Linked DNA regions of Homo sapiens: region 1 is linked to region 2. Evidence: promoter capture Hi-C in human tissues and cell types (Jung and others, 2019). All regions are on one chromosome and are shown on one strand. Each heading gives the region's core, a stretch centred on a gene start or on the middle of the fragment in contact. The rest is flanking DNA. Distances are from core to core; before and after follow the strand shown.

What was found. The method cuts DNA at HindIII sites, captures the fragments that hold promoters and counts their contacts. A contact is called where the count stands out against the background at its distance.
Region 1: a contact is called between a fragment that was not itself captured here and the fragment with the promoter of TRMT10C in region 2, in 1 of the 25 tissues and cell types used here (lymphoblastoid cells).

What each region holds. Positions count from the first base shown.
Region 1 is chr3:100,769,187-100,775,749 of GRCh38, reverse strand. It overlaps ABI3BP (ABI family member 3 binding protein), which reads left to right. Exons shown (of 68, transcript NM_001375547.2): 60 at 415-543; 61 at 1,077-1,145; 62 at 4,798-5,007. Among named protein-coding and RNA genes, the nearest start is that of TFG, 63 kb to the right of the region's middle. The HindIII fragment of the contact is 3,129 bases long and covers 3,038-6,166 here.
Region 2 is chr3:101,556,363-101,563,295 of GRCh38, reverse strand. TRMT10C (tRNA methyltransferase 10C, mitochondrial RNase P subunit) reads right to left here and starts at 1,428. Exons shown (of 2, transcript NM_017819.4): 1 at 1,293-1,428. RefSeq lists enhancers at 1,293-1,362, 1,373-1,442, 6,675-6,933. The HindIII fragment of the contact is 17,919 bases long and covers 1-6,933 here.

The sequences.
Region 1 (6,563 bases), core at 3,353-5,852, 790 kb after region 2:
GTTGCATGCTTCCCTGACATGTTTCTTGTTATAACCTCTGTCTATAATACTGCTCTTGTCTCTACCTACCAATAACTTCTCCTCTATTGGCACATCCTCTGTGAAGGCATTTCTCTGCCCACTCCAAACCGACAACCCTCCATCTTTCCTCACAGACATAACCACTCCCTCTTCTTACGCGCCCCCTCTGTGATGTTATCTAGTACTTTTTCACAATGTCTATAATAATGCTCTGATATACTTGGCTCATACATCTATCTCCACCAAGAATCAGGTCTTGTTTTCTCTCCAAGCCTGGTCTATAGTGCCAAGCCACATGGTCAGTGCTTAAAAACATTTATGGAATAAATAAATGTTTATAGGAAACTTGGCAGTGTTCCTATAAAGCCTGACTACTTTGGCTCTACTTTACAGGAATCATTTCATCAGGCCCAATAACTACACCACCCCTGAGGTCAACACCCAGGCCTACTGGAACTCCCTTGGAGAGAATAGAGACAGATATAAAGCAACCAACAGTTCCTGCCTCTGGAGAAGAACTGGGTTCGTATGGCCATCAGTTCTCACTGGATACTTAGCTGTGAGGTGCAAAAGATTTTAAATGTTGGTGGGGATGGGTGAGTCTCAGTTTGAGGTCTTCTATTTTACTCCATTTTATGATTAATATGGTTGTTTTTAATTTTAAAATAATACTTATTTTCAACACTCCCTTATAGAGTATTATCCTTCCCTTAGCAGACATAGAAGAAACTGCGTAACTTTGGTTCATAAAAAGATCTAGACTACCTAATGCTACTACTAAATCACATTATTACCAACTACACATATCTTAAGTTATTAGTGCATATTAACCACTTGGTTATAATTTGTAATTCATTACTCACACTATAGAACACCTTGCAGCAGGACACAACTAATGGCCTTATATTGTGGATGAATATGTATAATTTTAAAAAATCAAAACTGCAAGCAGTTTACAAGAAGAAATATTGAATATCTTTAGTCTACAACTTTTTCATTGTATTGTGAAGCTTTTTTATCTTTTGCCAAAACTGTTCATTATTTTCCATTCTCAGAAAATATAACTGACTTTAGCTCAAGCCCAACAAGAGAAACTGATCCTCTTGGGAAGCCAAGATTCAAAGGTATGTATGACTGGCTGTGAATCTCACATTTGAAAAGGCCATTTTTGGTAGGTGTATCAGCCAGTTATTGCTGTGTAAAAAACCACAAATCTTAGTAGCCTATTATAATAATAAGGTTTTATTTTTCATGGGTGTCTGCAAGTCAACTGGGTGTCAGCTGATCTAGGATATGTTTAGCTTAGTGGTTCTGCTTCTAGCAGCAGGTACAGCTAGGCCTCTTGTGGGTTGGACTCAGGTCCACCCCACATGTGTTTACTCTGATTCCCAGGATGAACAACCAACAGTGACCCAGGGGAAGCCATTTTCGTAATAATGCAAAATCAAGAAAGGGGGTGTCCAAATGCAAAACCACATTTAAAGCTCCTTTTTGTGTCATATCTACCAATGTCCATTGGCCAAAAAATGTCACACAGCCAAGATCAAATCAAGGATTGGGGAAGAATACTTCTCCTGTGGACATAAAGAATAGTTTTGAACAACAATCTACCACAGTAGGAGAGATACAATATGACATAGAGCCCTTTTTTTTCTGAAATGTAACATTTGATGAATTTTAATATATGTATACACCCATGAGACCATCATCACAATCAAGATAATAACCCATATATAACTTCCAAAAGTTTCATCATGTGTCTTTGCAATCCCTTTCTCTTATTCCTCCCACTCAACCCCCCAGTGCCTACGTGGCAACAGGCCTGCCATACTATAGTATGTACTTTATGAAATTTTATATAAATGAAAACATACAGTATGAACTCTTTTTGTTGTCAGGCTTCTTTTATCAGCATAAATATTTGGAGATTTCTCTATGTTGCTGCATGTATATCAGTAGTCCATTCCTTTTTATTGCTGACTAGCATGCTATTATTTGGATATTCAATAATTTGTTTCTTTAGTAAATGCATTCGTGGCATTGGTATTTCTTTTACATTACTGATAAAGCTATTATGACCATTCATGTACATGTCTTTGTATAGCCATATGCTTTCATTCCTTTGGACAAATACCTAGGAAGGGGTGGCTACATGACATATAAGTGTTTATATAACATTTTAAAAGACTGTTTTCCAAAGTAGTTGTACTGTTTTACCTTTCTATCAGCAGAGATGAGAGTTCTAGTTCCTCCAAATCCTCACCAACATTTGTTATGGTCAGTCTTTTTTATTTTAGCCATTTTAATAGGTGTGTAATGGTATCTGATTATGGTTTTAATTTGCAACCACTTAATAACATTGAACATCTTATGTGCTTATTTGCCATCTATATATCTTTTTTGCTATTTCCAATATTTTTGCCCATTTTAAAAAATGGAGTTGCTTGTTTAATGTTGAATTTTGAGAATCTATATTTTCTGGATACAAGACCATTTTTAGATACATACTTTGAAAATATTTTTTCCCAGTGTGTGTCTTCTAATTTTAATGAAGCTCGGTGTATCAATTTTTAGTAGAATTCACTTTCTTTAATAGGTATGGAGCTATTCAGAATAGTTTTTCTTTTTCTTTTCTTTTTTTTTTTTTTTTTGAGATGGACTCTCGCTCTGTTGCCCAGGCTGAAGTGCAGTGGTGTGATCTCATCTCACTGCAACCTCCGCTTCCTGGGTTCAAGTGATTTTCCTGCCTCAGCCTCCCCAAGCAGCTGAGATTACAGGTGCCCGTCACCATCCCCATAGTTTTTGTATTTTTAGTAGAGATGTGGTTTCACCATGTTGGCCAGGCTGATCTCAAACTCCCGACTGCCAGTGATCCACCCATCTCGGCCTCCCAAAGTGCTGGGATTATAGGCATGAGCCACCACGCCCAGCCTGCATTTTATTTTGGGTGTGTAGAACCTTACATTTAATATGGCTATTGATATTGGTACATTTAAATCTTCATCTTGCTATTTGCTTTCTATTTTTCCCATCTATTCTTTGTTCCCTTTTTTCCTCTTTGTCAATCTTCTTTTAGGTTGAGTATGTTACGATTTCATTTAATCTTTTTTGTTGTCTTATTAACTGTAATTTTGTTTTATTATTTTCATGGTTGCTTTGGGGTTTATAGTATGTATCTTTAATTTATCACAATCTGCCGTCTAGTGATAATCTACAACTTCACATATAAGAACCTCACACTAGCATAGCTTTACTCCCCTCTTGGCCTTTGGACTATTATTGTCATACATTTTACTTTTACATGTTATATACATTACCGTAAGGTGTTTTTATTTATGTTTAAACAGTAAACTATTTTTTAGAGATAAATAATAAGAAAAACATTGTGTATGTTACCTATGTGTTTACTGTCACTGCGCTTTTCATCACTTTGTGTGGCTCCATATTTCTGTCGGCATTGTTTCCTTCCTACCTGAAAGACTTCCTTTAATATTTCTTTTAGTGTGGGCCTTCTGGCAAATAAATTCTTACAGATTTTGTATGTCTAGAAAAAGTGTTTTGCTTTTAAGGTATTTTCACTACTTATTAAATTCTAAATGATGTCTTTTATTTCAATAATTGAAGATGCTGTTTCAATGCCTCTCACTTGCATTCTTTCTAGTAAGAAATCTGCCACAATCCTTATCTTTGTTGTTCTGTATACAACATGTCTTTTTTTGGTCTGCCTCCTTTAAGGATTTTCTCTTTATCACTTGTTTTGAGAAACTTGATTATGACTGGCATATAGTTTTCTACATTTTTGTTGTTTCTAGGTATCTTTGAGCTTTTTGGATCTATGGGTTTAGAAGTTTTATCATATTTGGAAGATTTGGGACCATTATTTCTTAAAATATTTTTTTCTGCTCACCCGCTTCTTTACCTCAGGTACTCCAATTACATGTATATGAGACCACCAGAAATGGTCCACACAGCTCAGTGATGTTCATTATTTTTAATGTTTATCTTCTCTCCCTCTTTTTGGATGTTTTTATTGCTATGTCTTTGAGTTCACTAATCATTTATTCTGTATTATCTTATAGGTATTAATTCTAACCAGTGCATCTTCTGTCTTATAGCTTTCATCTCTAGAAATTTGATTTGGGTCTTTTTTAATATCATACATGTCTTTACTAACTTTTTGAATATGTGGATTATAGTAATAAGTATAATTCTTATCTGATTATTCTAACATCTATGTGAGATCTACATTGGTTTCAAATGATTGATTTTTTTCTCCTTATTATAGGTAATATTTTCCTATGAATTTTACCTTTTAGGTGCTGGATTTTTTTTTTAATTATTCCTAGATTATTCTTGAGTTTTGTTCTGGGATACAGTAAAATACTTGAAGCTACTTGATTCTTTTGAGTCTAGTTTTTAAAATTTATTGAGTGGGACCAGAACTGTGTTTAGTATAGAGCTAATTATTCCCTACCACTGAGGGTAAGACCCAGTGCCCCATAAAGTATGAAGTTTAAACTATGCTTAGGGGGATCAAATTACTTTCGGATATTAGCATAAGCTAAACTTATTCAGTAAGTAAATCAACACCACCCTATATCACGTATCTCAGAGGCAAGATTTTGAATTTTCCTAGTTTGAACCATCCACATCATGGCTTTCAACCATCCGCTTATAATATGAGACCAAATGTCCTCAAATTATATTTATGAGCTCACTTCTATCTTCTTCATGAGTTTCAAAAATGTTAAATGTCAAGGGTCCTCTCTCTCGTAGGACCTCATGTGCGATACATCCAAAAGCCTGACAACAGTCCCTGCTCCATTACTGACTCTGTCAAACGGTTCCCCAAAGAGGAGGCCACAGAGGGGAATGCCACCAGCCCACCACAGAACCCACCCACCAACCTCACTGTGGTCACCGTGGAAGGGTGCCCCTCATTTGTCATCTTGGACTGGGAAAAGCCACTAAATGACACTGTCACTGGTAAGATCATGGCATGAGGACTGTTATGGTGGGAAGCTTTGATAACAAGATACCCTGGGAGTGGGGTACCCTGGGTCAACGTTGACATGTGAAGCATACCTGGGGAGGAGACAAAACTAGCAGTTTTGCTGCCTTTAAGGCACATTATTGTCAACAATGTCATAGGATGAGAAAAGATCATCTTTGTCCTTGTTATGGTCTCCCTGTTAATTTAGTAAATCTCCTCAAGCTGCATTCTTTCCATCTCCTCTCAGAACTCTTTTTCACACAATGAAGAAGAAGCTAGTCTTTCATTATCCAGAAAATTACATTGCTGATTAATTTAAAACTAATTTTCCTTTCACCAACCCCATTTCTTATTGACCTAGAACTTTCTAGCAGACTAAAGGTTACTTCAACTGTCTTAGGATAAATAAAAACAAAAATTCTATTCCTGATCAATTTTCTTCTCATCTTAAGAAATTTTTATTCTGTTACCACCCACCAATTCCTCTAAAAATGATTGTAAAAACTAAGAAACCCCAAGACACTCTGAATTTGTTATACAACAGTCTGATTCTCCATAACGAAGAGGATAGTCAAACGAGAGGAGGATGAAAAAAGACTAGCAAGCTAAATCAGCTAGAGGATATAGCAAATAGCATGGTAAGTGAATTCCTGCCACCCAAGTTCCTGCCATGTACCTGGTGCAGGCAGGCAGGGAATAGAGGGGTCAACTAAGAGGCCATCAGGAAGGGAGAGGAGCAGTGCACAGGACCAGGTAGCGCATGCAGGGACTCAGGATCTGCCAAAAACATTTCCTACTGCACATGGAAAACAGCAGCTATGTCTCCTCAGACAGAACCATTGGATCTGGGCAACTTCCAGTGTAAGCGGCTTATCTTAACTAGCTTTCTTTACCACGTTTTGTGAGTTTCCCTTTCTCATGCAAAGCTAGCCTTTGTTTTGAGAAAGAACCCACTGCTACCCATGGTTCCTGGAGATTTTCCTAGTCCTGCTTCTTTCCTTGGGACTGTGCTAATAGGTACTACAAATATCTAAAAATCAATTAATCTCTCAGTACTGATTATCTACATCCATTAAAATGTCTAAAACTCTTCATATACTGTGCTAGTAAGGAGTTCCTGTGATCATCTGAGGCTTAGTTCTCATGAAACTAAATGATCTATAAAATTTCATTTGCCTTAAAGATACGGAACATTGAGTTGGAACTGGTTAATCTAATACATTTAATTATCGAATACACATCAACTTGGATATATTCATAATATCCGATGTAACTTTATTAAGCTGAAGAATTGGCCTTTCTGATTGTATATATGTTTAATCTCAAAAAATCATGGATAGAGTATACTTTATCCATCTAACCAAACTGCTTTTGTAATGCTGTTACTAAATGTTAATGAGGTGCTTGAGATCTGTCACATGATACAGAGGACTTATAACAATTTTTGTGGACAAGGATCACATCTCTTTAGCTGCAGAATTTCCTAAATAGAATTAAGTTCGTATTTAACCATAGTTCACCTAGTCCGTATTTAAACATTAGACCATTT
Region 2 (6,933 bases), core at 179-2,678:
ATCCCAGGTACTCGTGAGGCTGAAGTGGGGCGATTCTTCTACTTCCCAGGTACTCGTGAGGCTGATGTAGAAGAATCGCTTGAATAAGGGGGGCGGAAGTTGCAGTGAGCCGAGATTTTGCAACAAAATCTGTTGCAGTGAGCGACAGAGTAAGACTGTCTCAAAACAACAAAAACAAACAAAAAACACCTCAAACGCAACAAATCGAAATAACCCCTCTACCTTTGCTTCACAATCTGATCCTCCTTCAATGTTCTGTTTCAAGGGATATTGCTATCCATTGGTATTGTTCCCAACATATATTTCTAAGCTTATTGCGGCCAGGTCAGCAGCATCTCTAGCTATTCTTCACCTCACACTTCAAGTATTCCACCATTACTTTTCACAGCACTCTGGTGCCTATGACAGTACTTCTAACACTGCACTGTAATTGCCTGGTTATCTATTTGCCTCACTAGATGGTAAGGACTAACTAGTGTCCATGAGGACAAGGACTTTGTCTATAATGTTAACATTGAATCCAATGCTTGACAGTATTTGGCTCACAGTAATCACGCAAATATTTTTCTAATACCCTAGATCGATGCTTCCTTCATTAAAAAAAAAAAAAAGAAAAAAAAAGTTCAGCCTCCCTTTATTATTTTTTTTGAGACGGAGTCTCGCTCTGTCACTCCAGGCTGGAGTATAGTGGCGCGATCTCGGCGCAAGCTCCGCCTCCCAGGGTTCACGCCATTCTCCTGCCTCAGCCTCCCGAGTAGCTGGGACTACAGGCACCCGCCACCACGCCCGGCTATTTTGTATTTTTAGTACAGACGGGGTTTCACTGTGTTAGCCAGGATGGTCTCGGATCTCCTGACCTCGTGATCCGCCCACCTCGGCCTCTCATTGTGCTGGGATTACAGGCGTGAGCCACCGCGCCCGGCTCAGCCTCCCTTTAAAGAGAAAACAATTTACTTTAGAATCCCGGAAATATTTAACTGGGGTCCCCAGGCCCCAATCTAATAAACATTGATTTCAGAAGGAGTTTTAAAAGTTTTATTCTTGTAACTGGCAAGGACTTAGAATACCACAGAAATGAAAACCCCAATTGTAAAAAGCAATCAAGTACATCATTTCAGGAACCACTGATTTTGTTTCAGGTACTGTACTAGTTATAGTTTATTAAAATCACTGGGCTTCCTCTTACCCGTGGGCCTTCCGAACGCACATGCTCCACTAAGTGCATCTTGGAACGTCTCCGGCGTCCTCCCACCCCCAACACACACATTAGGCGAAAGAAGAAACTCGCTTACCAGGAGTGCAGAGATAGTGGTTCCCGCTGGCGCAAAGAACAGGGACCCTGGAGGACGAAGGACTCCGACGTACGGACGCCCAGGGATCCGCGCCGAAGCTAGCACGCAGCCTACCCAACAGTCTACACAGCCGACCAGAGCGGTCGCTGGGGCTCAGCCGGAAGTTCCGCCCTCTCCCTTCCGGCGCTGCTTTTTACGTCACAGCACGCAAAGAACGCTTTCTTGGCTAAAAGAAGCGCCTTAGAGGAGACGGCTGTCAGTAGGCAACTGGGTACTCGAAGACTACGCTCTCAGTTGTCACGGAGTTGTAGCTGTGTTGTGTTGTGTTTTCCTCCATATATCCTAAAAACTTCTTCTGGGCCGGGCCAGTTGGCTTACGCCTGTTATCCCAGTGCTTTGGGCGGCCGAGGCGGGCGGATCACTTGGGGTCAGGAGTTTGAGACCAGCCTGGCCAACATAGTGAAACCCCGTCTCTACTAAAAATACAAAAATTAGCCAGGTGTGGTGGCGCGCGCCTGTAATCCCAGTTGCTCGGGAGGCTGAGGCAGGAGAATCGCTTGAACCTGGGAGGCGGAGGTTGCGGTGAGCTGAGATCGCGCCACTGCACTCCAGCCTGGGCGACAGAGCAAGACTCTCTGTCTCAAAAAAAAAAAAAAAAAAAAAAAAAAACTGTTTCTAATCCTCTTTTCAACCTACTCTCTGTTTGGGCCCTGTATTTATAAACATTTGCTGACAGAGTACTAAAATAAAGTATGTTTTTTTCACACGTCTTCTTACTCAGCTTCAAACTCCTTGACGCTAGGACTTTAAACTCCTAATCTTTTTGACCAGTTTATCACCAGTACCTGGCACTATGCTTGGAACGTGATAAGCCACGGTAAGTTTCTGTCTCCTCCTAGCTCATTTGGAAAGTTTAATGTGAAATGAAATTAAAACACATTTGTAAATTGGTGGCCTTTGGGGCCAATTCAGCCTCCACATATATTTGTAACCAAACACAGAATGAACATATTCTGCAGCCATTCTACTCCTAGTAATATACCCAAAGAAATTGAAAGCAGAGACACAAACAGACACTTGTACTCTAATGTCATTGTAGCATTATTGATAATAACCAAAAGGTGGAAGCAACCCAAATATCCATGAACAGATGAATAGATTAAAAAATGTTGCATGTACATACAATGGAATATTATTCAGTCTTAAAAAGGAATGAAGTTCTGATACATGGTACAACATGGATAAACTTTGGAGGCATTATACACTGAGATAAGCCAGGCACAAAAGGACAAATATTGTATAAGTCCACCTATATGAAGTGCCTAGAATAGTCAAATCATAAAGAAAGAAAGTAGAATAGTGTTTACCAGGGGCTGGGGAAAGGGAAGAATGGGCAGTTACTGTTTAATAGGTATGAATTTTCAGTATGGGATGATGAAAAAGTTCTGGAGATGGATAGTAGTGATGGTTGTACAAGAACGTGAATGTACTTAATGCCATTGAACTGTACACTTGAAAATGACTAAAATGGAAATGTTTATATTGTATATAGTTTACTAAAATAAAAGAAGGTAGGCATAGTCTTTTCCAAATGATTTTAAAAAACGAGATCTTGTCTAAGAGACTGATTACTATCATGTTAGAAAGGTGAGGTGGTGATAGCAAAATAATCATGAGTTTACTCCCAAACATGGAAAAAAATCAAGAATAAATATCGTCTAGTAGTTATAACAAATAGCAGTGTAGAGGTTATTTTTTCTTGTTCCTGTTCTTTAAAGAGATACATCTGAAGTTTTTCCATTAATATTTTATGAAGGTTTTTGCTATATGATCTTTGTCAAGTAAAGGAAATTTCATTCTGTTAAGTTTACTAAGATTCTTTATGTGAAAAATCTTTGGAAGTGTTTCTATAAATATAGCAGAACATAATTTATTCAATATGTCTGGGATCTGACCTATTCTAGATTAAGAATATTTCCAGGTTTCAGACATCTTACCTCCAACAAAAAGCACAGTGATTTTCAAAATACGTTTTTTTGTTTTTTTTTTTTGAGACGGAGTCTCGCTCTTTCACCCAGGCCAGAGTGCAGTGGCGCGATCTCGGCTCATTGCAAGCTCCGCCTCCCGGGTTTACGCCATTCTCCTGCCTCAGCCCCCGAGTGGCTGGGACTACAGGCGCCCGCCACCGCGCCCGGCTAATTTTTTGTATTTTTAGTAGAGACAGGGTTTCACCGTGTTAGCCAGGATGGTCTCGATCTCCTGACCTCGTGATCCGCCCGCCTCGGACTCCCACAGTGCTGGGATTACAGGCGTGAGCCACCGCGCCCGGCCTCAAAATACATGTTTTGGCATAGAAAAATAGCTTGTAATATGGGATGTAAGGTATCAAAAAAATAAAAAATAAATTGTAGGCCAGGAGCAGTGGCTCATGCCTATAATCAGCATTTTGGGAGGCCAAGGCAGGCAGATTGCTTGGGCTCAAGAGTTCCAGACCAGCCTGGCCAACGTGGTGAAACCCTCTCTCTACAAAAAATACACAAAAAAAGAAAAGAAAAAGAAATAAATTTTAAAAGCAAGGAAATATATAAAAACCCATAAGACAATGTCACATAAACACTAGAATTGAAAAACTAGAAGGTCTGAATGCTCTCTCTTGGCTCATATTTCTTCTTGGAAACAATGGTTAGACCTAAATAAAGGCTGTTTTGTAGTCAAGGCACCCACTCTCCAGTTCCCCAGAGCTTATTCCACCACATGTTATCTTTTCTACACTGGTGCAAATGTCATTTGCCATGTATTTTGCCTGCACTGTTTATTATATAATAGAGAACGATTTCTCTATACCAACGTCTCTTTCAAGAGTTGGAAGACAAAGCATGGATTCAAAGATTTAGGTGTTACTTACAAAGTAGAGAACTCTTGTATTTGATTCTCTGCTCTACCTTCAATGTCTACAACAGTGCTTGGCAAGTATCGGAAACTCAATAATAATTTGCTGATGAATGAATACTAAATAGATCAGGTAAGTGATGTTAGTGGCTTGGACAACAGTGGTGGCAGTAAAGGCAAAGAAAAGGGGGAATATTTGAAAGATATTTAAGAGCTGGACATGACAGAATTTGGTGATCAATTTGGGAGAGAAGGAGAGGAACAAGTCAATAGTCTGGTTTGAGCACCTGGGCAGACAGTGAAAAGGAGTATATGGTGTGAGGGCAGAGATGGTAAGTATAGTGTTAGACATGCGGCTTTTCATCTCTCTTCAAAATAGCCAAATGATATCTCCTTTAGGATATTTGGCAGTTGGCTGTATGGGTCTAGAGTTTAGGTGAAAGAAGAATGCACCAAAGATACATATTTGAGAGTTATTAACATAGAGTCTGTGAAACCATATGGGTGGAAGAGATTACCTAGGGCTTGGGTAGAGAACAGGAATGGACAAAAGAAACTGAAAATAAGCAGCTAAAGAGATGGGAGGAAAACAACCAGAATATGACATAGAAATCAAGGAAAAGGTGTTTTCAAAGACAAGTGGATGGGTAACAGGGTCAAATATTGCCTAGAGATCATGCAATGCAGACTGAAAAGTATCTACTAGATTTAGCAATACAAGGGCCACTGGGACCTTCATTGTGAGGTTTGGGGGCTTTAGCCAGATGAGAGTGAATAAGGAATGAGGAGATTATGAGAAAATAGAATCAGCAAGTTTAAACATTTCTATGAAATTTGTCTAAAGAAAAGACAGCGTGCTCAGTCCCTGGATGTGGAGTCCAGGAAAATTTTCTTCATTATTATTATGTTAGATTGGGAGAGGCCTGACATTTTAAATGCTGTTAGAATCATCAGCAAAGGGGTAAGAGAAAGAAAGGATAATGGGATGGGTAGACTTCCTGAGAAGATTAACAGAGATGGTATATAGAGGAGAGATGCTATTTAGAGGAGAGATGGAGAGATTGGTTTCGTATAAGAGGAAGAAATACCACTTTCATTGTAACAAGAAGAAAGGAAGAAACTTAAGGTGGGTATGGAGGACAATTTATAGACATGATGGCTATAATTTGATACAGTTCGCATTCTCTGTGAAAGAGGTAGACAGACTACCTCTGCGGATACTAAAGATTGGGTGAAGGTTTGTTATTGTCATAAAGAATAACATATAACAAATGTACAGAAACAGAAAGTAGAATGGTTGTTACTGTGGAGTCCTAATTAGGGAAAAGGAGTCAGGCTGGCGGGACCAGAGGAAAGCAAAGAGATAAAGCAAATAAGCTATAAATATGCCTGTCTTCACGGTTCAGGACATATAAACAAAAAAGGAAGAGGATGAATTATAGGTCTGTTTTTCTTTATGCCCAAGGACATATTGCCCAATACATATGGCCCTCCTACTCAGATAATGTACGTAACTCAAAAACTTACTGCTTACCAACAAACGCCTCAATTTATCAAACATCTCAGCTGACAAAAGAAAGCAAGTTATGCTGCCAGTGCATTGGCATTATCAATCAGCCCAAGTTCTATGTTATAAAATCTCCAGCTAATCTTTGTCTCTTTGCAGTCGGCTCCTCTTTTGCAGCCTTCCGGTTGCTTTATTGCAATGTATTTTCCTACTTTCTTTCTCTCTCTCTCTTTTTTTTTTTTTTTGAGAGGGAGTCTCGCTCTGACACCAGGCTGGAGTGCAGTGGTGCGATCTCAGCTCACTGCAACCTCCGCCTCCTGGATTCAAGCGATTCTCCTGCCTCAGCCTCCCGAGTAGCTGGGGCTACAATCATGCGCCACCACGCCCAGCTAATTTTTGTATTTTTAGTAGAGACGGGGTTTCACCATGTTTGCCAGAATGGTCTCAATTTCTTGACCTTGTGATCTGCCTGCCTCAGCCTCCCAAAGTGCTGGGATTACAGGCGTGAGCCGTGCCTGGCTTTTCCTACTTTCTTTAATAAATTTGCCTTTCTTTACAAGCGTTTTTGGTAAATTCTTTTACTCCAGAGCCACCGGCCCAGATAGTTGTCCCTGCCACCCCCTGTGACAGTTACCAGGAATGGTGGAGTTGTTTAATGAGTTTCAGATATGCAAGATGAAAAAGTCCTGGAGATCTGTTGCATAGCAATGTAAATATAGTTAACACTACTGAACTGCACACTCAAAAAATGGTTAAGATGGTAAAGAAAGAAGTATGAGTTGACTAGTGAGACAGCCATGATATCAGGCAGTGCTAATAGTCTAGTTCAGTTTGGGGATCATGAATTTATAGTGATACCAATCTGTGTTACGTGATCTTTCTCCCTATTTTGCTAATGCTGCTAAGGGCTAAGATGGCTGGGTAAAACTCAGTTTACAGAAGGGGAGTGGTGTAAAGTTGTTAAATATTTTGGTATAGGGGAAGAAATATGACTATCTATCTTCCCTTCATGAGTTCTTAGCTGAGACTCTCTGTAACAAAAGACAGATTGAACAAGAGAAAAACAAGTTTAATAACTTGTATACCTCTTGTATGCATGGGAGATAACCCAGAGAGATGAGTAAATCTTAAAAAATAAAAATTAACAAAAAAAGATTTTAAACTTCAGGGTTGAATATTATCATTTTCTGAAAACAACAACAACAACAACAACAACAAAGAAGGATGTGGAGACAGATTCAGTTA